Linked DNA regions of Homo sapiens: all the other regions are linked to region 4. Evidence: promoter capture Hi-C in human tissues and cell types (Jung and others, 2019). All regions are on one chromosome and are shown on one strand. Each heading gives the region's core, a stretch centred on a gene start or on the middle of the fragment in contact. The rest is flanking DNA. Distances are from core to core; before and after follow the strand shown.

Region 1 (6,167 bases), core at 3,633-6,132, 550 kb after region 4:
GCATGTGCCTGTAACCCCAGCTAATCGGGAGGCCAAGGCAGGAGAATTGCTTGAATCCAGGAAGTGGAGGTTGCAGTGAGCCAAGATCACACCACTGCACTCTAGCCTGGGTGTCAGAGCAATACTCTGTCTCAAGAAAAAAAAAAAAAAAAAAGACAAACCTTAAAGAAAAGCCCTTGACTTGATGGCTTCACAGATGAATTCTACCAACCATTTAACTAAGAACTAATACTTATCCTTTTCAAATTCTCTCAAAAAACTGTAGCATACACACATCTAAACTCATTCTGTATGGCCAGCATTACCCTGATTCCAAATGACACAAAGATTGTGTAAGAAAATAAAACTACAGACCAATATCCTTGATGATTATTAATGCAAAAACCATCAACCAAACACTAGCAAACTGAATTCAACAGCATATTAAAAGGATTATGCACTACGACCAGATAGAATTTATTCCTGGAATGCAAGGATGGTTCAACAAACAAAAACTGATCAAAGTGGTGGCTTACACCTGTAATCCCAGCTACTTGGTAGGCTGAGGCAGGAGGATCGCTTGCGGCCAGGAGCTTAAGACCAGCCTGTGTAACATAGCAAGACCCCATCTCTAAAAAAATTAAAACGATCATCTCAGCTGATGCACTGAAAGCATTAGACAATATGCAACACTTTTTCGTGGGGAAAACACTCAGAAAACCAGGAATACAGGGAAATTACCTAAACATAATAAAATCCATATGCAAAAAAAAAAACCTACAGCTAAAATTATACTCAACAATGAAAGACTGAAAGATTTTCCTCTAAGATTAAGGACAAGATAAGGATGCTACTTTTAGCACTTCTGTTCAACATAGCAATTAGGCAAGAAAAAGAAAGAAAAGGGACCAAAATGGGAAAGGAGGAGTAAAATTATCCCTGCTCACAGATGATATACATGGAATACCATAAAGATTCCACTGAAAAACTGTTACAACTAATAAGGAAATTCAGCAAATAGGAGAATATAAATACAACATGCAAAAATCAGTTACGTTTCTATACACTAATGGTGAACAATTTGAAAAGTAAACAATTCCACTTATATCAAAAAGAATAAAACATTAAAGATTAACTTAACCAAACAAGTAAAAGCCTTGTACACTAGAAACTACAAAATTTTGCTAAAATGAATTAAATAAAACATTAATAAAATAGATCACATGCCTGCTCATGGACTAGAGTGCTCAATATTGTTAAGATGTCTATACTAGCCAAAGTAATCTATAGAAAGTGCGATACCTATCAAAATCCAAATGACGTTATTTTGCAGAAATAAAAAAATCCATCCTAAAATTCATTTGAAATATCGAGAGACACAGAATAGCTAAAACAATCTTGAAAAGGATGAAAGTTGGAAGACTCACAGTTCGTAATTTCAAAACTTACTGCAAGGCTATAGAAATTAAAACAGTGTGGTACTCCCATAAAGAAAGACATATAGATCAATGGACTAGAAGAGACCCCAGAAATAAACCCTCAAATATCTGGCCAAATGATTTTTGACCAGGAGAAAGAAGACAAATTTTTAACACATGATGCTAGGAAAACTGGATATCTACATGTGAAAGAATGAAGTTGGTCCCTTACCTGACACCACATATAAAAATTAATTCAAAACAGATCAAAGATCTGAATGTAAGTACTAAAACTATAGAAGTCTTAAAGCAAGGAAAAAGCTTCATGACATTGGACTTGTTAATGATTCCTTGGATATGATATAAAAAGCATAGACAATAAAAGTAAAAAAGTAAAACTGAATTCATCAAAATGAGAAACTTGTACATCAAAGGATCCTATCAACACACTAAAAACGTAACCCACAGAATAAGAGAAAACATTTGCAAATCACATATCTGATAAGGGAATATCTAGAACACACAGATAACCCTTAAAGCTCAATAAAAAATTATATTTAATACTTCTAATTATAATTAATAAAACCTAATTTAAAAATAGGCAAAGGACTTGAATAAGCAATATCATTTGAAGATATACAAATAGCCAATCAGCACATGAATAGATGCTCAATATCAGTAATCTGCAAATCACAACCACAGTGAGATATCACCTCACACCAATTTGGATGACTTATCAAAAAAATCAGAAAATAACAAGTGATGGTGAGGGTGTGAAGAAACTGGAACCTTTGTCAGCTGCTTGTGGGAATGTAAAATGGTGCAGCTGCTATGAAAAACAATTTTAGTGGTTCCTTAAAAATTAAAAATAATTACCTTATGATCCAGAAATTCTACTTTTGGGCCAATACCCAAAAGAATTGAAAGCAAGGACACAAATACGTATCTGTACACCCATGTTCACAGTAATATTATTCACAACAGCCAGAAGGTGAAAACAACCTGTGTCCACTGATGAAGGAATGGATAAACAAACTGTAATACATACAAAAGAATATTATTCAGCCTTAAAAAGAAGCAATTCTGATATATATTACAACATGGATGAATCTTGAAGATATTATGCTAAGTGAAGTAAGCCAGATAGAAAAGAACAAATATTGTGTGATCCCACTCATATGAGGTACTTACAGTAGACAAATTCATACAGACCAAAAGTAAAATGGTGGTTGCCAGGGGATGGGAAGAGTTATTATTTAATGAGTACAAAGTTTCAGTTTTATAAGATGAAAAAGTACTATAGAAGGATGGTGGTGATGGTTGCACAATAATGCGAATGTACTAAATGCGCTGAACTATATACTTGAAAATGATTAAAATGGTAAATTTTGTTATATATATTTTACAATTAAAAACAAAGAAAAACACCTTGAAGGAGGTTTCTATAAGAACAGTCTGTGTAATGTCTCTGCGGCACAATTTGTTAGAGTGTTCTGCTGTTAATGGAAAGGTTGGTGGTTGAAGAACAGTCTGTGTAAATAGTGGCAATGTCAGTGACTACATTTCATGTCACAGTCTAGCACAAATAAATGTTAGGTACACGAAGGGAGGGAAAACTGGGTGCCATAGATCTAGAAAGTCACCAGACAGGGAGAAGGCAAGTCAGGTGGGATCTATTAGGCTTACTGTAAGACTACTGATCCCAAATCCTTACCCAAGATGCTTTTGGGCTGGGACGATAAGGGAAGTAGGCTTGCACTCAGTCCACAACATCTACCCAGGGAACTGGGGAAGGAGGCAGTGCCTATAGTCCAGATATGAGGACAGAGCTGCTCCTGAGGAAAAGGAGAAACAGAGAGCCTAGTCCAGGGCACAAGGGTGAGTATGAGGGCCTTACCCAGGGAGGACGTAAGTGCAAAGTTCTCCAGCATCACATCGAAGTACAGGTGTTTCTGAGCCTCATCAAGGAGATCCCATTCCTCCCAGGAGAAGTACACGGCCACATCTTCAAAGGTCACACTTCCCTAGCATAATAGGGATTGATGAAACCATGAACAGTCTCAATTTGGAAGACTCAAAATCCATGTCCCCATACATTCTCCTCCCAAGATCCCCAAGTCAGAAGAGACACCAGACCTTGGTGTCATTGATCCCTGCTGTCTCTTCACATTCCCATTAGTCACTGTGTTCATTCTGTTTTCCACTCTGTATCCTGTCAACACTTGGGTTAGATAAATCTCCCTCCTCTGATCCCAAACTCCAACTTCCTCACAATAGATGCCAAACTTCACAGAAATAAAGGAAACCTGCAGTTCCCTGAACCAGCTCAGCCTCACCTCCAAGGAGTTCCAAAAGCTGGTACCTACCTGTTTCTATCATAAATTTTCACCCATCTTTCCATTGGCTGCTCCAAATGGAAACATTGGCCTGGACTCAGGGCCCTTAGCTCAGGGATTCTCCAGGGTTCCCAAACCAAACGCTGAGAGAATGGTAGGTGAGTCCCATGACACCACAAATCTAAAGAAAATATCTGTCTGGGGAGGGTGGAGGGACATTCCAGACCAGTGAGGGGCTGAGATACCTCCACTTACCTGTGTAAGTTTGAAAAGCACCTCTGTAGCTATGGGAACCTGTGGAAAGACGCAGGCCTCAGAGGAATGTGATCATGGCAGTGCTCCATGGGCACAGGCCTTCCCTGTACCCTTGCCCCGGCCCAGAGCCACGTAACTTTGGGTCGACTGTCTAACCTGTGCGCCTCGGTCCTTAGTGCTGCCTCTCACCAGTTGTGTGGCCTTGGAAAAATATTCAACCTCCCTCTGCCTCAACGTCCTCATCCATCTCTAAAGTCTTTTCTTCCACTGAACAGCCTGCAGAGGATTTTTCAAATTTAACTCAGATGGTGTCTCTCGTTTGCGCAAGCTCTCTATGGCTCCCACGGCCCTAAGAATAAAGGTAGATCTCTCTCAAACTTTGTTCCCTGCAGTAACAATGTGGAGCCCAGGTTCCTGAATGCCCCCTTCTCGGTTGCCCGTCCAAGCCCTGCACGCGCCGGTCCTGTCCCTTGTCCCCCTGCCCACCACATCGGATGTCAGAAATAGGGGCCCCACCCACGAGCCTCAGTGTCCCCGACCCTGTGCTACAGAGACGTGAGCTGGTGCCTCTCACTTGGGACTTAAGAATCTCGGCCGGGGGAGGCCCGGAGATCGCAGCGCTCACCGAAGCCGGGTCCCTCAGTGCGGTCGCCATCCGAGTCTGTGGGCGGAGCTGGACCGGGAGCTGCGGGCGACCCGGGGGGAACCCGAGCATCGCTATCCCCAGGCCGGCCTCGCGGGCGGCTCTGCCCCCGACCCTCAGACCTGACTCTCGCGCCTTCACGGTCCGTCACTTCGATCCCGATGCAGCGTACCAAAGCGGCTGACAGACAGAACGGACCTCCGGGAGGGCAGCCAAAATGACCGCTGCGAAGACGCCACAAGTCCCGCCCTGGGGGGGGCGGGGGTAGACCCACACGGAAATGCCCCTGTCTTGGATTTTCATTGGATCAAAGTACTGCCGCTCGACGCAAGGCTTTCTGGGTAATGTAGTCTCCCCCAGGCTGCGACGGAGGGCGCCTTGTGTGCAGACAGCTGGGAGCGCTAGGAAGCTGCGTCTGCTGCCTTCCAGGGCGACTGAGGGGCTTCGGTGTTTGAGGTCTTAAGTAGGTTGACACTTGAACAACACAGGTTTGAGCTGTGCGGGTCCATTTACACGTAGGCGTTTTTTTTCCCCAATAAACGTTACTTCGAGTGTGCTCCTTTTCCTGCCTCTTCCAGCTCCCCGACCTCTTGCCCCAGAGACAGCAAGACCTCATTCTCTTGCCCAGCATGAAGAACACAAGGATGAAGACCTTTATGATGATCCACTTCCACTTAATGATTAGTAAATGTATTTTCCCTTCCGTATTCTTTTATTTTCCTTTTTTTAATTGGGTGTAATGTCAACGAGCCTCTTACAATTTTCCTGATACCCTTTCTCTGGTCTGTTTTAGTACAAGTATAGTTCTTATACTAAAATATATATAATGCATATATCATACAAAATGCATATATCATATATATTATGCATATATCATGCATATATCATACAAAATGTGTTAATCGACTGGGAGTTTATGTAATTCATAAGGCTTCCGGGCAACTTCATAAGGCTTCCGGGCAACAGTTGGCTATTAGTAGTTAAGACCTAGGGGAGTCAAAAGTAATACAAGCATTTTCAATTCCGCAGGGGTCGGTATCCCTGACCCCTGCGTCGTTTAAGGGTCAGCTGTATATCAGTCTCTAGTGTAGAGGTTCACTTCAGTATTTAGACATCATTTCAGATTCCATGCAGCCCACCCCAGCAGATCTCCACTGGTAGTGGGAAGCGAAAAAACGTTATCTTATTGCTCTTCAAATGCATGCAGCCTGAAGTGTTAAAGTCACTTTTTGTAGGTTTTGTCAGGGACAAAAGACACCAGACAGGGCTACAATGGGAAGATAGTGGAGGGATAGTGGGCAGCCCTGAAGCCAACGGACAAGGGAAGTTCCCTGCTTCTGGTGCCCCCAGAAAACGCTCTCCTGCCTGCAAAGTCAGTTTTGTTCATAAAACATGAAGCTTTAATACATGAATGTTCATTTTCCTTGTATAATCAAAACATTTAATTTTTTTTTGAGACAGGGTCTCACTCTGTTGTCCAGGCTGGAGTACAGTGGAACAATCATAGCTCATTGCAGCCTCCACTTCCTGGGCTCA
Region 2 (6,316 bases), core at 2,283-4,782, 770 kb after region 4:
TTTTTTCTTTCTCAAACCTTCCCTAGCTACTACCCCCCTCAGATTAAAGACCTAGAACCACTGGGCACGGTGGCTCATACCTGTAATCCCAGCACTTTGGGAGGCTGAGGCAGGCAGATCACTTGAGGCCAGGAGTTCGAGACCAGCCTGGCCAACATGGTGAAATCCTGTCTCTACTAAAAATACAAAAATTAGCTGGGTGTGTTGGTTCATGCCTGTAATCCCAGCTACTTGGAAGGCTGAGGCAGGAGAATTGCTTGAACCTGGGAGACAGAGGTCGCAATGATCCGAGATCACATCAATGCACTCCCGCCTGGGCGACAGAGTTAGCCTCTGTCTGGAAAAAAAAAAAAAAACAAGGCCAGGTGTGGTGGCTCAAGCCTGTAATCCCAGCACCTTGGGAGGGCCGAGGCAGGCAGATCACGAGGTCAAGAGATTGAGAACATCCTGGCCAACATGGTGAAACCCCATCTCTACTAAAAAATACAAAAATTAGCCGGGCATGGTGGCGGGTGCCTATAATCCCAGCTACTCGGGAGGCCGGGGCAGGAGAATCGCTTGAACCAGGAAGGCGGAGGTTGTAGTGAGCTGAGATCGCGCCACTGCACTCCAGCCTGGAGACAGAGCAAGATTCTGTCTCAAAAACAAAACAAAACAAAAACAAAAACCTAGACAACCTCAGGCTGCCATTCCATGCCTGATCCCTGCATGCCCCGACCTCCTGCCCTGCTGCTGTGCTCCTTATCCTTGCCAGCTAGAACATTAAGCTACAGTTCTCTAAGCATCCCATCTAAGTCTCACCACCAAGCATTTGAACATTCTAGATCCTGTGTTTGAGATGCCTTGCCAAATCTCAAACCATCAGTTGTGAGAACTAGAACCACTCTATATAACCAGGCACTGAGTTTGGAACCCAGGTCTGGTGGAACTACAGGCTCTCCTTGGACCCAAGGGAGAGAGAAGAAAAGGTGAACAGTCTCAGGATAACACCATTCCCTATATCAGCATGCTGAAACCATCTGGGATGGGTGAAAGCTGGAAACACTCTCCACTCACCTGTCCAGCATCCATAAGCATTGCTGCCACTGCTATGAACCCTGTGGGAAGAGGCAGGCCATGAGGATTAAGACAGCATTGCAGCATCCTACAGGCTGACTGTACAACCACCTCTGGCCCTGCAACTAGAGCAAAGTTATCTGAGGGTACACAGTAAGTCCTCAGGGTTCAGTGTCTTGATGAGGACTGAACTTCCTTAAGTCTCGGTGCCCTTATGTGTAAAATAGAGATTAAAAGGATTGCCAACTAATAGGGCTTATATGGGCATCAAATATAAGTAGTACACACTATGTATCAGCAATTTCTTTCTACTGGATTAAATATTTTTTACATGTTTTCGGTACAAATGACATGGAAGGGTTTTGAAATTTTGGGTGTGTATTTTTCCCACTTCTTACGGTGTTAAGGAAATGTGATACATAAAACTTTCCATTGCAAGCAAATAGAAAAATTAACATTCAGCCGGGCATGGTGGCTCAAGCCTCTAATCCCAGCACTTTGGGAGGCCGAGGTGGGCGGATCACGAGGTGCAGAGATCAAGACCATCCTGGCCAACCATGGTGAAACCCTGTCTCTATCAAAAATACAAAAATTAGATGGGCATGGTGGCGCATGTCTGTAATCCCAGCTACTCGGGAGGCTGAGGTAGGAGAATCGCTTGAACCCGGGAGGCAGAGGTTGCAGTGAGCCGAGACCACGCCACTGCACTCCAGCCTGGCGACAGAGCGAGACTCCGTCTCAAAAAAAAAAAGAAAAAAGAAAAATCAACATTCAACAATTATTAAGTGAATAAATTTAACTATTGGTTACATTCATTTCTAACTGCCGACCTATGTGTACATATTTAGAAGGATACTGGTTCATTAGTGGTTAAATAAATGTTTTATACATTCGGCCGGGCGCGGTGGCTCATGCCTGTAATCCCAGCACTTTGGGAGGCTGAGGCGTGCAGATCATGAGGTCAGGAGATAGAGACCATACTAGCTAACACGGTGAAACCCCGTCTCTACTAAAAATGCAAAAAATTAGCCTGGCGTGGTGGCGGGCACTTGTAGTCCCAGCTACTCGGGAGGCTGAGGCAGGAGAATTGCTTGAACTCGGGAGGCGGAGCTTGCAGTGAGCCGAGATCGCGCCACTGCACTCCAACCTGGGCGATGGAGCGAGACTCTGTCTCAAAAAAAAAAAAAATGTTTTACACATTCATAAATAAATAAGTTGCAGGGAGGGGATAAGCAAGCAGGTCAGTTACTGGTCCCATCAGCAACCAGGCCTGCCTGCTACAAATTCAGTTGCTGGAAGCTTGCTGGAGGCCCTTGACTAGATGTGAGAAAGCCCTACCCCCGTCTGGACCCAATGTCCCCACTAGTCTGGATGACCTTCCTATTGTTCCACAGAGTGGGCCTGGGGGGCTGCTGGGTCTGCAGGTGCAGAAATCTAAACCACCTCACACCTCAGTCTCCAGCCTAGGCCAGTTCCTTAACCCATTCAGAACTCCGTTTTTGCAGATATGAGCCAGAATCCCTCCTATGACAGGTCTGCGCCTTTCTAAAGGTAGCGTCAGGCTTATGGACCCACCCATGATCTGCCCTCCAAAACTCAGCCCTCCAAAATGCAACTCATAATCCTCTCTGAAACCTGCTCCCTAAGCTGACTTCTCCAACTCCATTCTTTCAGATTTTCAGGCCAAAACAAAATCCATGGAATAGACCCTTCACTACCCTCACTGCTACATTTGATGCAGCAGGAAATCCTGTCGACTCTATCTCTGAGATCCATCCAGAATCTCATCACACTTCCCCTCTACTGCAACCCCTCTGGCCCATCCCTACCATAACTCAAGGGGTCTCCTCAGCGGTCCCCTTGTCCTGGTTTAACATCCTGTTTTTCCCAACTTTAAACGTCTACCTCTGGGCATAACCCTTCCTGCACAGCCTTCTACGGCTTTCAGCAGCTCCGCTGCCCTCCCAGGCGAGACTCCGCCTCACCCTCAGCTCCGTGGAGACAAAGACGCTCGGGCTCCCCAGTGCCGCCCGCTCTGCAGCACCTCTAAGCCTCGCACGTGCAGGTCCCTGACAGGAGCTCCCCCGCCTCACAGCACCGCGGACACCGGTACCCCACACAAGAACGCTCCTCTCTTTGGGACACAGGGGCCTGACCTGCAGGGCCCCTCCTCGGGGCTTCGGCACTCGGAGGAGGGATCGGGCGGGGCGCCCTGGGACGCGGCACCCACCTCAGTCAGGTTCATCGGCGCAGCCTCCGCCAGCACAGCCAGGGAAGAGCGGGGCGGGAGCGGCAGTGACCTGGACGCTGACAGAGGCACCAACGCCTGCAACCGATTCAACCGAGCCTCACTCTAGCCTCTGTACAACGGGGAAACCTTTTCTCGCGTTTTTCCGCTTTTTCACCTCAGTCTCGACTCAGCCTGAAGGTGAACAGATCCCAACGCAGCCATATTGACAACCCCAGGAGGCGTTGCAGGAAGTCCCGCCCACACGCATTGCGAACCCCCGTAGACGCCGCTCTGCTAGGCCTTCATTGGCTACACTCGCTGCTTGTGTCCGCCGCTGTGTCTTTTGGGTAATGTAGTTCCCAGGCCACTGCCTGCCCCGCTTCTGAACTTAAGTTAACTCGCGTTCAGGATGAAAGCCAGGAGGATCCTCCTGAGGCTTTGAGAAATGCAGTTGCGGGGCTCCAAGGACGTGGAGGGGCTTCATTGGCTTTTAAACGGCAAGCATCCAGATTTTCCCGGAAGGCAGTCTAGAACAAGTCAGAGAAATGTTTCAGAGACCTGTCCTTTCAGATTCTGTAAAGCACAGCAAGTTCCCAAAAGACGAACATCCGAAGGAACATGGCCAACCATAAAGAACTGGTCTTCCACGCATAGCGGTCAGCTCTTTTGTGCTTGCCAAATACACACAGAACGAAGCTCTGGAGACTGTTTTATGATCTTCAATGTGCTCTGCTGGGCACATTGAAAAGACCCAGACATGGCATGATGGGGAGTTTGAGGAGTAATATCTTTCCTTTCTGAATAATCAGTTATTGTCTTTCAGCCTACCCAGCAACACTTTATTCACATGATACTTATTACTTTATATCTGAGATATTTTCCACTTATTTTAAGAGACTGAAACCTAACTGAAAAGGAAAAGCGACTTATCTACCATTATCTGCCAGAATAGTGTGGCCTTCCACCAGTCAAAGCCCTTGTGCAAAGAAAGCATCTTACTCCTGAGATAAAGGTTTGGGAATGCATGATCTCATCTCATTAGTGGAAAGTGATTTATCATTTCGCCTGAAATTGTATCAACAGTGTCTGCACAGGGAGTTGAAATTGTCTCTGAATAACTCTTGTGAAATGGCTATTACTGAAACTATTAATGACGATTATGTAGATATCCAAAGAAAGTGGCAAAAATAGTTATAGAGAAACATATTTGTGATAGGAGGAAAAAAGCTAAGGTTGTCCTGGAACCTTGGACACACTCAAGTTTGGTGTCCAAAATCTGATTCTTTTTCAAACTTGAAAACATTGTGCATTAACAGCTTGAAGGGAGAGGTAAAGACTATATATTAAAAGAGTTACCAGAAAAGTAAAGCTGAATAGGGAAACTGTGCTGTCGTATTTATTACTCTAACATATTTGATGAACACTCATTCGATGCCAGGTACAATACTAAGTGCATGGGACACATTAGGAGTAGGGTTGCTAGCTGTCTGTGGTCCTCTAAGACACGTAAGACGTATTTAATGAATTAGTCCTCAGTCCTGTATTGACCTTGTCAGGTCACTTTAAATGTCCTGTATTCCGCTTTTTACAATAAATTACAAAACCTCAGAAGTTAGAGCTATTTTTCTACCACTATAATTGTAAATTAAATCACTTAGCAGCTATGTTAGCTGAAAATCATACCCCCACAAATAAAGATATGGACATAGTCTTGTGATCTCTCCTGCAGAATTGGTGAGGGAAAAATAAAATGGAGCACTGAGATATTCAGTAAAGGAGAAGACTGTTTTTTGGCCAAAGTCTTGAAATTTGGTTTATCAAATTACAAAAAGAAGGAAGGAAGGAGAGAGAAAGAAGGAAACGAAAGGAAAAGAAAAAACCACCCAACTGAAGGTCTGGAAGAGTTAAAGCTGTTCAGTAGTGCCAGCTACATGGAAGTTAAGACGGGAGGATTACTTGAGTTCATAAGTTCAAAACCAGTTTGGGCAATATAGTGAGATCCCCGTCTCTGAAAAAACTGAAAATTAAAAACATGTTAATCATTTACCAACAATACATCCCTACCATCCTACAATTCTATTTCTAGATATTTACCAACAGAAACTAAACAAACTTTTTTTTTCTTTTTTTGAGATAGAGTCTCTCTCTGTCGCCCAGGCTGGAGTGCAATGGCACGATCTCGGCTCACGGCAACCTCTGCCTCCCAGGTTCAGGCGATTCTCCTGCCTCAGCCTCCTGAGTAGCTGGGATTACAGGCATGGCCACCACGCCTGGCTGATTTTTGTACTTTTAGTAGAGACGGGGTTTCACCATGTTGGCCAGGCTGGTCTTGAACTCCTGGCCTCAGGTGATCCACCCGCCTCAGCCTCCCAAAGTGCTGGGATTACAGGCATGAGCCACCTCGCCTGGCCCAAACATCCATCTAACACTTGGTGACAGGCCACATATCTTTGTGTATGTGTATGTATATATATATATATATATGGAGAGAGGGAGAGAGAGAGAGTCTCGCTCTGTTGCCCAGGCTGGAGTGCAGTCACACGATCTCAGCTCACTGCAACCTCTGCCTCCTGGGTTCAAGCAATTCTCCTGCCTCAGCTCCCGAGTAGCTGGGACTACAGGTGTGCACCACCACACCTGGCTAATTTTTGTATTTTTAGTAGAGACAGGGTTTCACCATGTTGGCCAGGCTGGTCTTGAACTCCTGACCTCATGATCCACCCGGCTTGGCCTCCCAAAGTGCTGGGATTACAGGCATGAGCCACCATGCCCAGCCCTTTCAACATATTTTATTAGGTGTTTCGCTACCTTTTGAAATTCCACTTTCATGTAATGAGCGGCTGTATGGTGACAATGGCCCAGGAGGCTCTGGACAGTGAGTGGACATTCTCTCCTTATGTCCCCACAAGGACCTCGTCTTGTTCAATGTTCCGACGTGTTTCCACTCATTCCTGTTCCTCACACTTCATCACCCCACCACTTGTAGACAACAATTCTAAAGGTCTGTTGTGTGTTTTTGTATTTACATGT
Region 3 (6,541 bases), core at 196-2,695, 680 kb after region 4:
CTGCCTGGGTGCAGTGGCTCAAGCCTGTAATCCCAACACTTTGGGAGGCCGAGGTGGGCAGATCACAAGAGCAGAATTCTGTCTCAAAAAAAAAAAAAAAAGAAAGAAAAAGAAAGACAATGTGGGTTTCCTTTTGGCAATCTGGCTGCCTGCTATATACTCCCCTGAAGACCATCCTGCTGAGAGCCCTCCCTTCTACTGGAGCAGTTGATCATCCCACCTGTGCTGATAGCTAGGGAAACTTAGGCACCAAAGGTGCTGCTCCACCAGCCTGGCTGACCTTTCCTTTTCTCCATATGGACTGGACATGAGGAACTACTAAGCCTGGAGTGGCAAACCTATATACTACCCAACACTGCGGTCTCCATCCAGTCCTGGGTGTTCATACTCTATAACCCTCCATTCCTGCAGGCACCAGACAAAATCACTTCGGACCACGAAACTCCAGGCTGTAGAGGCTGCCCCATCCTACAGGCCCATCTCTCCCTTCCCTCACCTCAGGGACCATCTGAAAGAAAACTTTAAGATTCTCCCTCCTAAATACGAGCCCCAGGCCTTCCAGCTGCTCATGTGGACATGACACCTCCACTCTGGGACATCTCAGGATCACCATGCCCAAAACCTATTCCCTGCACAGCCTTACCCATCTCCATCCTTCCTGATATTCAGGAACAAACAAAAATACAAATAAAAATCCAGAATGGCTCTTCATTCCCTACTTTCTTTCACAGTCACATCTGATGCAACAGGAATTCCCGTCTGTTCAGTTTTTGAAATCCATCCAAGATCTGATCACTTCCCCTCCTCTGTGGCCCAGTCCCAGTAGACTCTCCACTAGTCTACTGAATTTACCTACTCACAGGTCTGTCTTCACCCGCCTCACCCCCACCCCAGTCTGTTTTGACTTGAAGGGCCTTTGGCAAACTTTGAGAAACAGATCTTGTCACTCTTCTGTCTCCAGCCCTCCGCGGCCACTGTGGCCCCCTCAGGATGAAAGCGCAGCTGCTCGGGCTGTCGCTCGACACGCGCCTCGTCCCTTCCCAAGCTGCCCACTACAGACACCAGGAGGCCTCAGGTTCGGGACTCGCTGAATGCGCCTCACATCTTTGCGAGCCGGGCCCCTTGCCCTCCATTGCCACCCCATCACACTGCGTGTCAGAAACGGGACGCCGCCCACGAACGCCCCACAGTTCTGCACCCGGGGACCTGAGCAGGCGGCCCTCACAGGGCTTTAGGATTCGGGGGAGGCCGGGAGGACGCGGCGCTCACCTGAGCGGGGTCCCTCAGCGTGGCCGCCGCCATCGGAGCCTGTGGCGGTGAGACAACGACCGAGGAAAGGGCCCGGGCCACCCTGGGCGCCGCCACCGAGCCTCAGACCCGCCTCTGAGCTGCGAGAACACAGCGCGTCCCCACCGCGCTTTCCGGAGCTGGTCGCCGCAGCGAACAACCAGCTTCCGGCAAGCTGAGTTCTCTTGAGGGCAGCGAAAGCAACCGCCGAGGGGAGACGCCGGAAGTCCCGCCCATTGCGCGTCGCACTCTCGGGTAGACCTCTTTTCATTGGCCAAGCATCGCGGCTCACGGCGCGGCGCCTTCTGGGCAGTGTAGTTCGCGTGGCTCCAAACTTCGAGGAAGTGGGCATAACTTCGGAGATGGAGATTGGAGACGGTAGATGATGGAGATGGAGATGGAGATGGAGATGATGGAGATGATGGAGATGGAGATGATGGAGATAGAGATGATGATGGAGATGGAGATGATGGAAATGGAGATGATGAAGATGGAGATGATGGAGAAGATGGAGATGATGGAGAAGATGGAGATGATGGAGAAGATGGAGATGGAGATGATGGAGTAGGAGATGGAGATGGAGATGATGGAGATGATGGAGATGGAGATGATGGAGATAGAGATGATGATGGAGATAGAGATGATGATGGAGATGGAGATGATGGAGATGGAGATGATGGAGATAGAGATGATGATGGACATGGAGATGATGGAGATGGAGATGATGATGAAGATGGAGATGATGGAGAAGATGGAGATGGAGATGATGGAGTAGGAGATGGAGGAGAAATGAGTGTCGAGAACTCTCGGACTCATCTGGAACCTGTTGTAATTGGAGATGGGCCTGGATTTCAGTTTCCTGCAGCTGATACTCCAATCTTTCCTTCTTTTGAAGGACTTGAAGAGGATCTTCAGGGCCACCATAAAGAGGTTTCACTGGGCAAAGCCACGTATACCTTCCTAAATTTCCTTTGGCAAGGGGACACCCAATATTAATGCCTGATGTATGATAATAAGAAAAGGCTCTGAATTCTGGATGTAGGTGATGAGAGAGTAGGGGAGCCCAAGGATTTACGTTCCTCTTTCACCCCATTCTCATTTGTGTTCTTTCCTTCCTCAAGGACCCAACATTGGTGTAAAGGCACAACAACAGGCAGCAAACCCATAAGCCAACTCCCCCTCAATTTCTCCCCTTCATCCATTTCTGCTCCATATTCCTGTCACAGTTACTATGGGACTGAACGAAGGGGAACGAATGCAGAAATGAAAACAAAGGCAAAATAAATCTGTTTTAAAGAAGGGGTCAGGGGGCTTCTTGCTTCTAGTGAGGAAGGGCCCTGAGCTTCCACAGACCTTCATATTTATTGGGTAGAAAGAGTAGGGAGGTGGTGGCTTACGCCTGTAATCCCAGCACTTTGGGAGGCCAAGGCGGGTGGATCACAAGGTCAGGAGATCGAGACTATCCTGGCTAACACGGTGAAACCCCGTCTGTACTAAAAAATACAAAAAATTAGCCGGGTGTGGTAGCAGGTGCCTGTAGTCCCAGCTACTCGGGAGGCTGAGACGGGAGAATGGCATGAACCCGGGAGGTGGAGCTTGCAGTGAGTGGAGTTCATGCCACTGCACTCCAGCCTGGGCGACAGGGAGAGAATCCGTCTCAAAAACAAAAAAAAAGAAAAGAAAATATCGCTCTGGTTTTGTAATGATAAAATAGAACCTACATATATTTTGTGTTATGCATTCTTGGCATACCTATTTCAATGAATTCTGGTTTTTTGAAATTGTCTCAAATATTCAAAAATTTTTTCCAGTATATTTATTGAAAAACATTCACATATAATTGGACCTGTGCATTTCAAACCTGTGTTATTTAAGGGTCAGCTGTACTGTCATGAAACCACCAACACAGTCATGATAGAGAAAATTACCATTGCCTGATAACGTTTTCCTGTACTCTTTCAGTCAGAACCTTCCCCCTCAGACCGCAGGCTCAATAACCAGTGATCTGCATTCTTTTACTCTAGTTTTGCAGCTTCTTCATTTCATATAAATGGAATCATACTGTATGTCAACTTTTGTGTCTGGCTTCTTCCACTTGGCTCAGGGATTTTCAGATTTATCTATGATATTTTTACTTGTATTCATAGTTTATTCTTTTATGTTGTTGAATGGTATTTTATGTTAAGATATACCATAATTGATTATTCATTCTTCTGTTCACGGAAATTTTAGTTTGTGTGTGTGTGTTTTAAAAACAAATTCTGGTGTTTGGGTTTTATAAATAAAACTGCTGAGCATGCAAGTGTAAGTATTTCTAGAACATATGCTTTTGTTCTCTTGGGGATATCCCAATAGGTAAGATTCCTAAACTATATGGTAAGCTTATGCTACCTTTAAAGCTGCTACACTGTTTTCTGAAGTTGTTTTACTACTTTTGCAACTTTCTTGAAAAGAGATTGACAATAGAGTGTTGTGTGAGTGTATTTCTGGGTTCTCTGTTCTCTTCTGTTCATCTCTGTCCTTTAGCTAATACTGTACTCTCAATTACTGTACGTTTGTATGTCCTAAAGTCATAAAGATTTTCAAACTTATTCTTATTTATAAAATTGTTTTGGCAATTAGTCCAGGCCCTTTGTATTTCCATGTAACTTTTTAGAATACATTTGTAAATTTTTATTTAAAAGATTAGGTTTTTATTAGGATAGTTAAAGGAAAACTGACAACTTCAAAGTATTAAGTCTCAGATTCAGGAACTTCTTGTGTCATTTATTTATGCCTTGTTTAATGTCTCTCAGGAATGTTTTAAAGTTCTTGAACATATTTTGTTAAATTTATTTCTAAATATTTCATATTTTTATGCTATTGTGAAGTACATTTTTTCAGTTGCCAAGCATGTATTTGCTAGCTATATACCAACCTAGTAGAGACACCTACTTTTTATACACTGGCCTTTTTATCTTAGGACCTTGCTAAACTCAATTATTAGATCTAGTAGCTTTTTAGTAGATAATTTCGAATTTTCAACATTATCATGTCATATGTAAATACAGACAGTTTGGGTTCTGCCTTTACAATCATTAGATTTTTTTTTTAATGAGAAGTGATGAATGTTGACGTATTTATGTTATTCCTAATGTTGGGGAAAATCAGCTTATCAAATATTTGATCACATATATATCAAATGTGCTGTTAGCTGTTTTTCATAGATGTGCTGTATCAGGTTGAAGAAATCACCATCTTGTTTAATTTGTTGCATGTATCATAACCTAGTTTTGAATTTTGTAAAATGCTTTTATTACATTTTGAGATTTTCATTTTAGTCTGCTAATATAGATTAATAAAGAGTTTGAATTGTTGAATCAAACTTGTATTATTGATAAACCTCACTAGGTTATGATTTATTATTGTTTGTATATGGCTGGATTCAATTTGCTAAATGTCTTTTTGTTTTGTTTTAGCATGAGTGCAAGTTTATTTAAAAAGGCTTTAGAACAGGAAAGAAAGGCAAGTATGCTTGGAAGAGACCCAAGGGGGTGATTTGAAGGACGAGTGCCTCAATTTGCTAAAATTTTCTTAAGGCTCTGTGTCTATATTCATGTGATTATTGGTCTATAGTTTTGTTTAATGTCATTGCCTGCTTTAGTGTCCTGTTAATGCTAACTTTCATATAGTCCAGAATTCTTTGAACCTTTGTCCTCTTGGAAGTTTGTATACAATTGGTATTACTTCTTCCTTTTTCATAAAAGTTCTTATATATCCTAGGAATGACCCTCAGCTGATGCCATCAAGAAAAAGGAATCTCAGTCCTACAACCACGAAGAACTTAAATATGCTAACAACTGAAATAAGCAAGAAACAGATCCTCCCTGAGACTCTAGAAAGGAACATAATCATGCCAACACTTTGATTTTAACCCAGTGAGACTTCTGTTATATTTGTGTTGTTTAAACCATAAGTTTGTGGTGATTTGTCAGGATAGCAATAAAAAGCTAATATGTCAACATTATTCTGTGAACATTTATTTATTTTCCAATGCAGTATTTCCTCAAATCATGTTGTACCTTTTCTGCCACAACTTGAAAACAGCCTCTTCTCTAAGGAGTTCTGGTTCCTTTTATTAAAAAATGATATAAACCAATAACTGGGTATTAAATGTGCTCAAAACTACTGGAATGCCATGGCTTGCTAGGCTCTCAGTAAAGATAGGGAATATGTACACATTTATCTATATATTGAATTATTTATTTGTAGTTAAACCTACAAATATTTCAGAAGTTGGATATTTAAAAAGATTCATAAGATTACAGTAGCATACTCACATAAGGCTTTTTTTTTTTTTTTTTTTTTTTTTTTTTTTTTTTTTTTTTTTTGAGACAGAGTCTGGCTTTGTGCCCCAGGCTGGAGTGCAGTGGCGCAATCTCGGCTCACTGCAAGCTCCGCCTCCCGGGCTCACACCATTCTCCTGCCTCAGCCTCCAGGATAGCTGGAACTACAGGCAGCCGCCACCACGCCCAGCTAATTTTTTGTATTTTTAGTTGAGAGGGAGTTTCACTGTGTTAGCCAGGATGGTCTCAATCTCCTGACCTCGTGATCCACCCGCCTTGGCCTCCCAAAGTGTTGGGATTACAGGCGTGAGCCACCGCACTCAGTCAAGGCTTTTATTTATAGGCAAAGATATGGTATAGTAAGAGGATGCAACACCAAATGCACAATGAATAAAATAACAAATGGATAAATTGGGCTCCATAAAATTAAGACAATCTGCTCTAGGAAAGATACTGTTAAGAACTGAAAACAAGGCCAAGCATGGTGGCTCATGCCTGTAATCCCAGCACTTTGGGAGGCTGAGGCAGGATGATCACTTGAGGCCAGGAGTTAGAGACTAGTCTGTGCAACATAGCACGACCTCATCTCTAAATTTTAAAAAAGAAAAGAAAACAAAAGCCATGGACCATGAGAAAATATTGACAATGCTTATATCAAATAAGGAATTTGTCTCCAGAAATATTAAGAACTTGTAACCAACCAAATGTTTTAAAAAACAGGCAAAAAATACATTTGACTAAAGAAGATATATGGGTGACAAGTAAACACATTAAAAAATGCTCAAAACTGAGTCATCGGAAAAATACAAATTAAGAACTACAATGAAATACTACTTCACACTTAGTAACATGGCTAAAATGAATGGCCTATGACTTCTACACATATAAACTGTCAGTAATGTGAAGAAATGGAAAATCTAATATATTCC
Region 4 (6,295 bases), core at 964-3,463:
TTTTGTATTTTTAGTAGAGATGGGGTTTCACCATGTTGGTCAAGCTGGTCTCGAACTCCTGACCTTGTGATCTGCCTGCCTCGGCCTCCCAAAGTGCTGGGATTACACATGTGAGCCACCGCACCCGGCCCTATTTTTCTTTTCTTTTTTTTTTGAGACGGAGTCTCTCTCTGTCGCCCAGGCTGGAGTGCAGTGGCGCCATCTCGGCTCACTGCAAGCTCCGCCTCCCCGGTTCACGCCATTCTCCTGCCTCAGCCTCCCGAGTAGCTGGGACTACAGGCGCCCGCCACCACGCCCGGCTAATTTTTTGTATTTTTTTAAGTAGAGACGGGGTTTCACTATGTTAGCCAGGATGGTCTCAATCTCCTGACCTCGTGATCCACCTGCCTCGGCCTCCCAAAGTGCTGGGATTACAGACGTGAGCCACCGCGCCCGGCCCCCTATTTCTTATTCATTTGAAAATTCTGACTTTGGGAGTGGTGCGTATGCCTCCTAGGGAATTCTCTGAGCTGCACCATCACACCCAAGCCGTCAGCCCCTACCCAGGGCCCTGATGCTTCTTTCTATCTCCTTCACCTGTCAGGGATCCATCCTCACCTGTCTTTTCTACTTGTTATTGAACTCTGCTGCTGTCACCTCTTGCTTGATGCCAATTTATCTGCTGAAATCTAAACATAAGCCTGATCCCTGCATAGACCTTTGGGAGGCCGAGATGGTCGGATCACCTTAGGTCAAGAGTTCCAGACCAGCCTGGCCAACATGGTGAAACCCCGTCTCCACAAAAAACACACACAAAAAATAAAAATAAAAAAAAAATTAGCTGGGTATGGTGGCACACGCCTGTAGTCCCAGCTACTCGGGGAGGCTGAGGCAGGAGAATCACTTGAACCCAGGAGGCGGAGGTTGCAGTGAGCCAAGATCGCGCCACTGCACTCCAGCCTGGGCGACAGAGGGAGACTCCATCTCAAAAAACAAAAAACAAACAAACAAAAGACCTGTCAATTACTCTTCCCAATATAAAGGATACAAGCAAGAGCCTTAACCTGGCCTTCAGAAGCCCCTACAATCTGGTCTCTATTCTAACTACACCCTTGGAAAACCAAGCAACCTGCGGTTCCACCATCACGCAGGATCTCTCATGCCCAACCAATCTCTACCCCCTCCCCGAGGTGCTCTGGAGGATGGGGGTATCTCAGGGAAGGTGGTATCTCACCACCATCCGCATCCTCCCAGGTGCAGTAGCGGACTCAAAAGCTGAAGGAAGCCTCTACTCACACAGGACCAGGCCGTCGGAAGCCTGGAGGCCATAGTTTCCTCCTTCTCAATGTGTCTCTGGTGGAAGTGGGCAGAGTCCTGAGGAAACCGAAGTTGGGAGGGGAGGGAGAGGCTTAAGGTGTCCGCTGGGGAGCTACCGCAGCCTCCGCCCAGGAACGGCTCCCTCAGCGGGAAATGACAAGTCCACCCAAACTGGAAAACGCCCAGAGTGAGTCATAGGACTCCCACAGGACTGGATAGGACCAGTTTTCCCCTCCCCGAGAGGACACCGAGCCTCCTCTGTCCCGCGCATCGGAGGGGATCGCCTCCCTGGCCCAGACCCCACGCTTCCGGAGGCGATCTGTTCTCTCCACCGCGGCGCCCCGAAAGCACTGTCTCCCCTCGGGGTTCCGGGTCACCGACCCCATCCCACAGAGCGGCGGGAGGACTGCAGGCACGGCCGGCTCAGGGTACCCGAGCTCGGCGGAAAATGCAGAGGCCGCGCTCGCCCCCAACTAACGGTTCTGGACCCGCCCAGCGCAGCCCCCGACGGACGCAGGTTTCGCGCGGCACTCACCCGGCGCGCGCCGCACAATGGCGCCCGTCGGCCGGCGGCGAAGTGCGTCAGCCCGCCGTCCCGAACTACAACTCCCAGACGCCCCCGCGGCGCGCCAGCTTGCCTCACCCAGCGGCGGCCATCTTGACTGGCCGGTTAGGGGCGGCAGGCGAAGCCGGGGACAGCAGGAGGAGGATACTCGTCGATGTCCCTCGGCGGTCCAGCTAGGCAAGGGGAGGCCTCTGGTGAGGGACGCTAGGCCGCAGGGCCCCACACTAATGTGGGCGGCGACCCGAGCTGGGAGAGAGTCGTGCCCTGCCACGAAGGCGACCACTCTTGGGGCAGAGCAGAAGCTGGAGAAAGGAAAGGCGCTGGACAGGGGTCAGGCCGGAAGTGCTGGAATGGGTGATGCTTGGTTGGGTGGCGGTGGGGGCGGGATTAATTATGACGTCCCTTGGGAAGAGGAAGGGCGGGTAGGGCCGGAAGTGCAGGGGGCGGGCCTAACTGGCCGTCCATCTGGGTGGAGGGGCGGGGACAGGGAGGGCGGGGAGAATGTAGGAGGCGGGGCTAGAGTCCACGCAACTTTTGGGGAAGGAGGGGGACTGGAAGACGGAAGTCGCGGGGGGAGTGGGGAGAGGTACTGAAGTTCCACCAGTTTCAAAGTCGAGAAAGAAGGGGAGGACTGGGAGAGCCGGAAGTGTGCAGGAGTTGGGACTGACGGCACTTATGTTTCTGGGAGATGGGTCCTGCCTGAAAGTGAGGGTGGACAGGGCCAAGTGTCCACTCAAGGTCAGGGAGGGGAGGGAAACTCGGAGGACCGGAAGTGTGATGGGAACGTGGCCAAACGTCCACCCTAGTTCTGGGGATTAGAGGAAGGGAGTAGGAAGGTCAGGGGTGTGCAAGGGGAAGGAGGGAAGACTAGGTGGACCACAAGTGTGATGGGAATGAGGCCAAACGTCTACCCTAGTTCTGGAGAGATGATCAGGGCTAACTGTACCCCAGGCATTGGGGAGGAGGAGCAGGATCCTCTGCCTAGTGTCCCCCTGTGGTCCAGTTTGCTCCTGGAAGCTGAGGTGCTCATGTCTAGGGAGAGGAAACCTAAGTCTGTAGCTGTCCAGGACCTGGTGTGTGCCACCCATCCTTGGGCCCAGGGTGCTCTCATCTTCCTTGGGAGCTCAGGACAAGGAGGTATTCTCTTGGCTTCCTCAAGGACCGACATCTGGTGTTTTCTTATCTTCCTTAGGTCCCAGGTCCCAGTATGGTCTTGTCTTCTTGGGACCTGAGGGCCCTAATGATCTCTCTCAGTGCTCAGGACCCTGTGTCCTCTTTCTTGATATTTCCTGGCAGGTCTCAGCAGCCCTCTGCCTCCCTCTGGTGGTCGTGTACACTGCCTGCTAAACTTGTTCCACGGGTTGTTGGTTTTTTTGGTCACTGTGGAGGATCCAACCTCAGGCTACACATTGTTTAATTGTTGCTGTTAGTGTGTTGATTTTGGCATAGGAGTATTTACTCAGAGACTGTGCAGATATCTTATAGTCTAATAATATTTCATTGGATTTTTCGTGTCTATTATAGATACAACACCATCCCCAATTAATAAGTAATTTGATATCTTCTTTTTCCATATTTCAACTTTAAAAAATTAACATTGTATAGTCCTAGCTAGTATGACAGAGCTATGTTAAGTAGTCATGTTTACTAATAGTCTTGTTTTGTTCTGGATTTGAATAGGATACGTCTAGCCCTTCATAATCACAAGGAAGCAAACCCCCTTGGAAATTCTTTTTTTTCTTTCTTTTTTTTTTTCTTGAGACAGGGTCTTGCTCTGTCACCCCGACTGGAATGCATTGGTGCGATCACAGCTTACTGCAGCCTCCACCTCCTGGGCCCAAGTGATCCGCCCACCTTAGCCTCTCAAATAGCTGGGACAGGTGCACACCACCACACCTGGCTTTTTTTTTTTTGGAGACAGAGTCTTGCTCTGTCGCCCAGGCTGGAGTGAGGTGGCACAATCTCGGCTCACTGCAACCTCTGCTTCCTGGGTTCAAGCGATTTTCCTGCCTCAGCTGCCCAAGTAGCTTGGACTACAGGTGTGTGCCACCATGCCTGGCTAATTTTTGTATTTGTAGTAGAGACGGGGTTTCTCCATGTTAGCCAGCCTGGTCTCGAACTCCTGACCTCAGGCAGTCTGCCCACCTCAGCCTCCCAAAGTGCTGAGATTATAGGCATGAGCCACCCCGCCTGGCCTCTTTTGTACTTTTTTGTAGAGACAGAAACCTCACTATGTTGCCCAGGCAGGTGGAAATTCTTCTAATGATTTCTTTCTATTTATGTGGTATAGGATAAAACCTGATTTTTGATTAAAAGAATTTGTTTTTGAGACAGGGTCTTGTTCTGTTGCCCAGGCTGGAGAGCAGTGCTGCAGTCATGGCTTACTGCTGGCCCAACCTCCTGGGCTCAAGTGTTCCTCCCATCTCAGCTTTCCAAGTAGCTAGGACTGACTACTGGTGTGCATCACCACACCTGGCTAATTTTTAATAAATATTTGTGTAGAGATGAGGTCTCAGTGTGTTGTCAGGGCTGGTCTTGAACTCCTGGACTCAAGCAATCCTCCCGCCTTGGCCTCCCAAAGTGCTGGGATTGCAGGCGTGAGCCACCATGCCTGACCAAAGATGTTTTGTTTTTTTTTTTTTGTTTTGAGACAGAGTCTCGCTCTTTCGCTCAGGCTGGAGTGCAATGGCGTGATTTCGGCTCAACTGCAACCTCTGCCTCCCGGGTTCAAGTGATTCTCCCTGCCTCAGCCTCCTGAGTAGCCGGGCGTGCCACCATGCCCGGCTAATTTTTGTATTTTTAGTAGAGATGGGGATTTGCCATGTTGGCCAGGCTGGTCTCGAACTCCTGACCTCAGAGGATCCGCCCACCTCGGCCCCGCAAAGTGCTGGGATTACAGGCTTGAGCCACTGTGCCCAACCTAAAGATGGTTTTATATAAGCATATTATTGAAGATTGATTTATGAGAGCCATTTTAATTCAACTTTTAATAACTGCATACTCTTTTCCTGTTTAGCAAATTAAATATGCTGTTTATTGTAATTTGTAAAATAAAAATGACTTCTGAAGAAATGTTAACTATTAAACATGTAAAATGTTGAAAAAATTTATTCATCGTTGTTGGATTTAGACAGTGCCTCGATTGCTTGTTCAAAACCTTCTGAGCCAGATGTATTTTGGAATTCATGATCATTTGGATTTTAGTAGGATGGTAATGTATTTACACCATACAGTGTGTAAATCCCTAAGAGGTGTGGGGTAGCACCTGCCATCAAACACATGAGTATATCTGTAGCAAAATACAAGAAGATTTACACTAGGTGGAAGAGAGACAAAATATAAATAGCCTTGTTCATATAAATTTTGCAGACTCATAACAGGGAGAAATTTTCTGTTAGAAAATATCTGGAATTTTGAATTACATAGAAGGCATTATGGATCATAAGTGAAAATGTGTGTTGTAGAAATAGTAGTTATTTCATTCAATTGCAAAGTTTAATTTTTACTTTTTCTCTCTTAATATAGTCTGCATAGGGCCAGGTGCGGTGGCTCACACCTGTAATCCCAGCACTTTGGGAGGCTGAGGTGGGTGGATCACCTGAGGTCAGGAGTTCGAGACCAACCTGGCCAACATGGTGAAACCCCGTCTCTACTAAAGGGGGCTCCATCTCAAATATATATATATTCCACATAGTCAGGCATAGGTTTATTGAGATACTGAGTTATTTAAATATATTAATATTTTTCCATGTGCTTTTTTTTTTTGAGATGGAGTTTTGCTCTTGTTGCCCAGGCTGGAGTGCAATGGCACTGCAACCTCCGCCTCTGCCTCCCGGGTTCTAGCGGTTCTCCTGCGTCATTCTCCCTAATAGCTGAGATTACAGGCAGATGCCACGACGCCCAGCTAATTTTTATATTTTTAGTAGAGACAGGGTTTCACCATGTTGGTCAGGCTAGTTTCGAACTTCTGACCTCAGGTGATCTGCCCATTTTGGCCTCCCAAAGTGCTGGGATTACAGGAGTGAGCCACTGCCCCTGGCCCCATATGCTTTTTTAAATCAATGGTCTACTGTTGGTTTAAATTAAACAACATATGGCCGGGCGCAGTGGCTCACGCCTGTAATCCCAGCACTTTGGGAGGCCAAGGTGGGCAGATCATGAGGTCAGGAGATCGAGACCATCCTGGCTAACATGGTGAAACCCCGTCTCTACTAAAAATACAAAAATTAGCCGAGCATGGTGGCGGGCGCCTGTAGTCCCCGCTACTCGGGAGGCTGAGACAGGAGAATGGCATGATCCCAGGAGGTGGAGCTTTCAGTGAGCCGAGTTTGTGCCACTGCCTTCCAGCCTGGGTGACACAGCGAGACTCCATCTCAAAATAAATAAATGAATAAATAAATAATAAATAAACAACATATGACTAAGAATAAAATA

Evidence for each region. Contacts are between HindIII fragments. The study calls those that stand out against the background at their distance.
Region 1: a contact is called between the fragment with the promoter of ZNF211 here and the fragment with the promoter of ZNF274 in region 4, in 7 of the 25 tissues and cell types used here (adrenal gland, liver, lymphoblastoid cells and 4 more).
Region 2: a contact is called between the fragment with the promoter of ZNF17 here and the fragment with the promoter of ZNF274 in region 4, in 1 of the 25 tissues and cell types used here (lymphoblastoid cells).
Region 3: the fragment with the promoter of ZNF773 here is called in contact with the fragment with the promoter of ZNF274 in region 4 in 2 of the 25 tissues and cell types used here (liver and spleen).

Annotation. Positions count from the first base shown.
Region 1 is chr19:57,631,883-57,638,049 of GRCh38, reverse strand. It overlaps ZNF211 (zinc finger protein 211), which reads right to left and starts at 4,882. Exons shown (of 4, transcript NM_006385.5): 1 at 4,614-4,882; 2 at 3,989-4,027; 3 at 3,295-3,421. The coding sequence starts at 4,703. RefSeq lists a silencer at 4,563-4,632 and enhancers at 5,073-5,122, 5,193-5,282. The HindIII fragment of the contact is 12,794 bases long and covers 3,875-6,167 here.
Region 2 is chr19:57,408,377-57,414,692 of GRCh38, reverse strand. ZNF17 (zinc finger protein 17) reads right to left here and starts at 3,532. Exons shown (of 4, transcript NM_001330617.2): 1 at 3,287-3,532; 2 at 1,057-1,097. The coding sequence starts at 1,077. RefSeq lists a silencer at 2,833-3,035 and enhancers at 3,279-3,338, 3,419-3,528. The HindIII fragment of the contact is 3,744 bases long and covers 1,129-4,872 here.
Region 3 is chr19:57,494,842-57,501,382 of GRCh38, reverse strand. It overlaps ZNF773 (zinc finger protein 773), which reads right to left and starts at 1,445. Exons shown (of 4, transcript NM_198542.3): 1 at 1,270-1,445. The coding sequence starts at 1,302. ZNF419 (zinc finger protein 419) reads right to left here. Exons shown (of 5, transcript NM_024691.4): 5 at 5,285-6,541. The HindIII fragment of the contact is 9,164 bases long and covers 1-5,805 here.
Region 4 is chr19:58,178,979-58,185,273 of GRCh38, reverse strand. It overlaps ZNF274 (zinc finger protein 274), which reads right to left and starts at 2,213. Exons shown (of 8, transcript NM_133502.3): 1 at 1,832-2,213; 2 at 1,276-1,353. The coding sequence starts at 1,308. RefSeq lists enhancers at 1,361-1,550, 1,177-1,888, 1,801-2,220, 1,889-2,602. The HindIII fragment of the contact is 17,090 bases long and covers 1-6,295 here.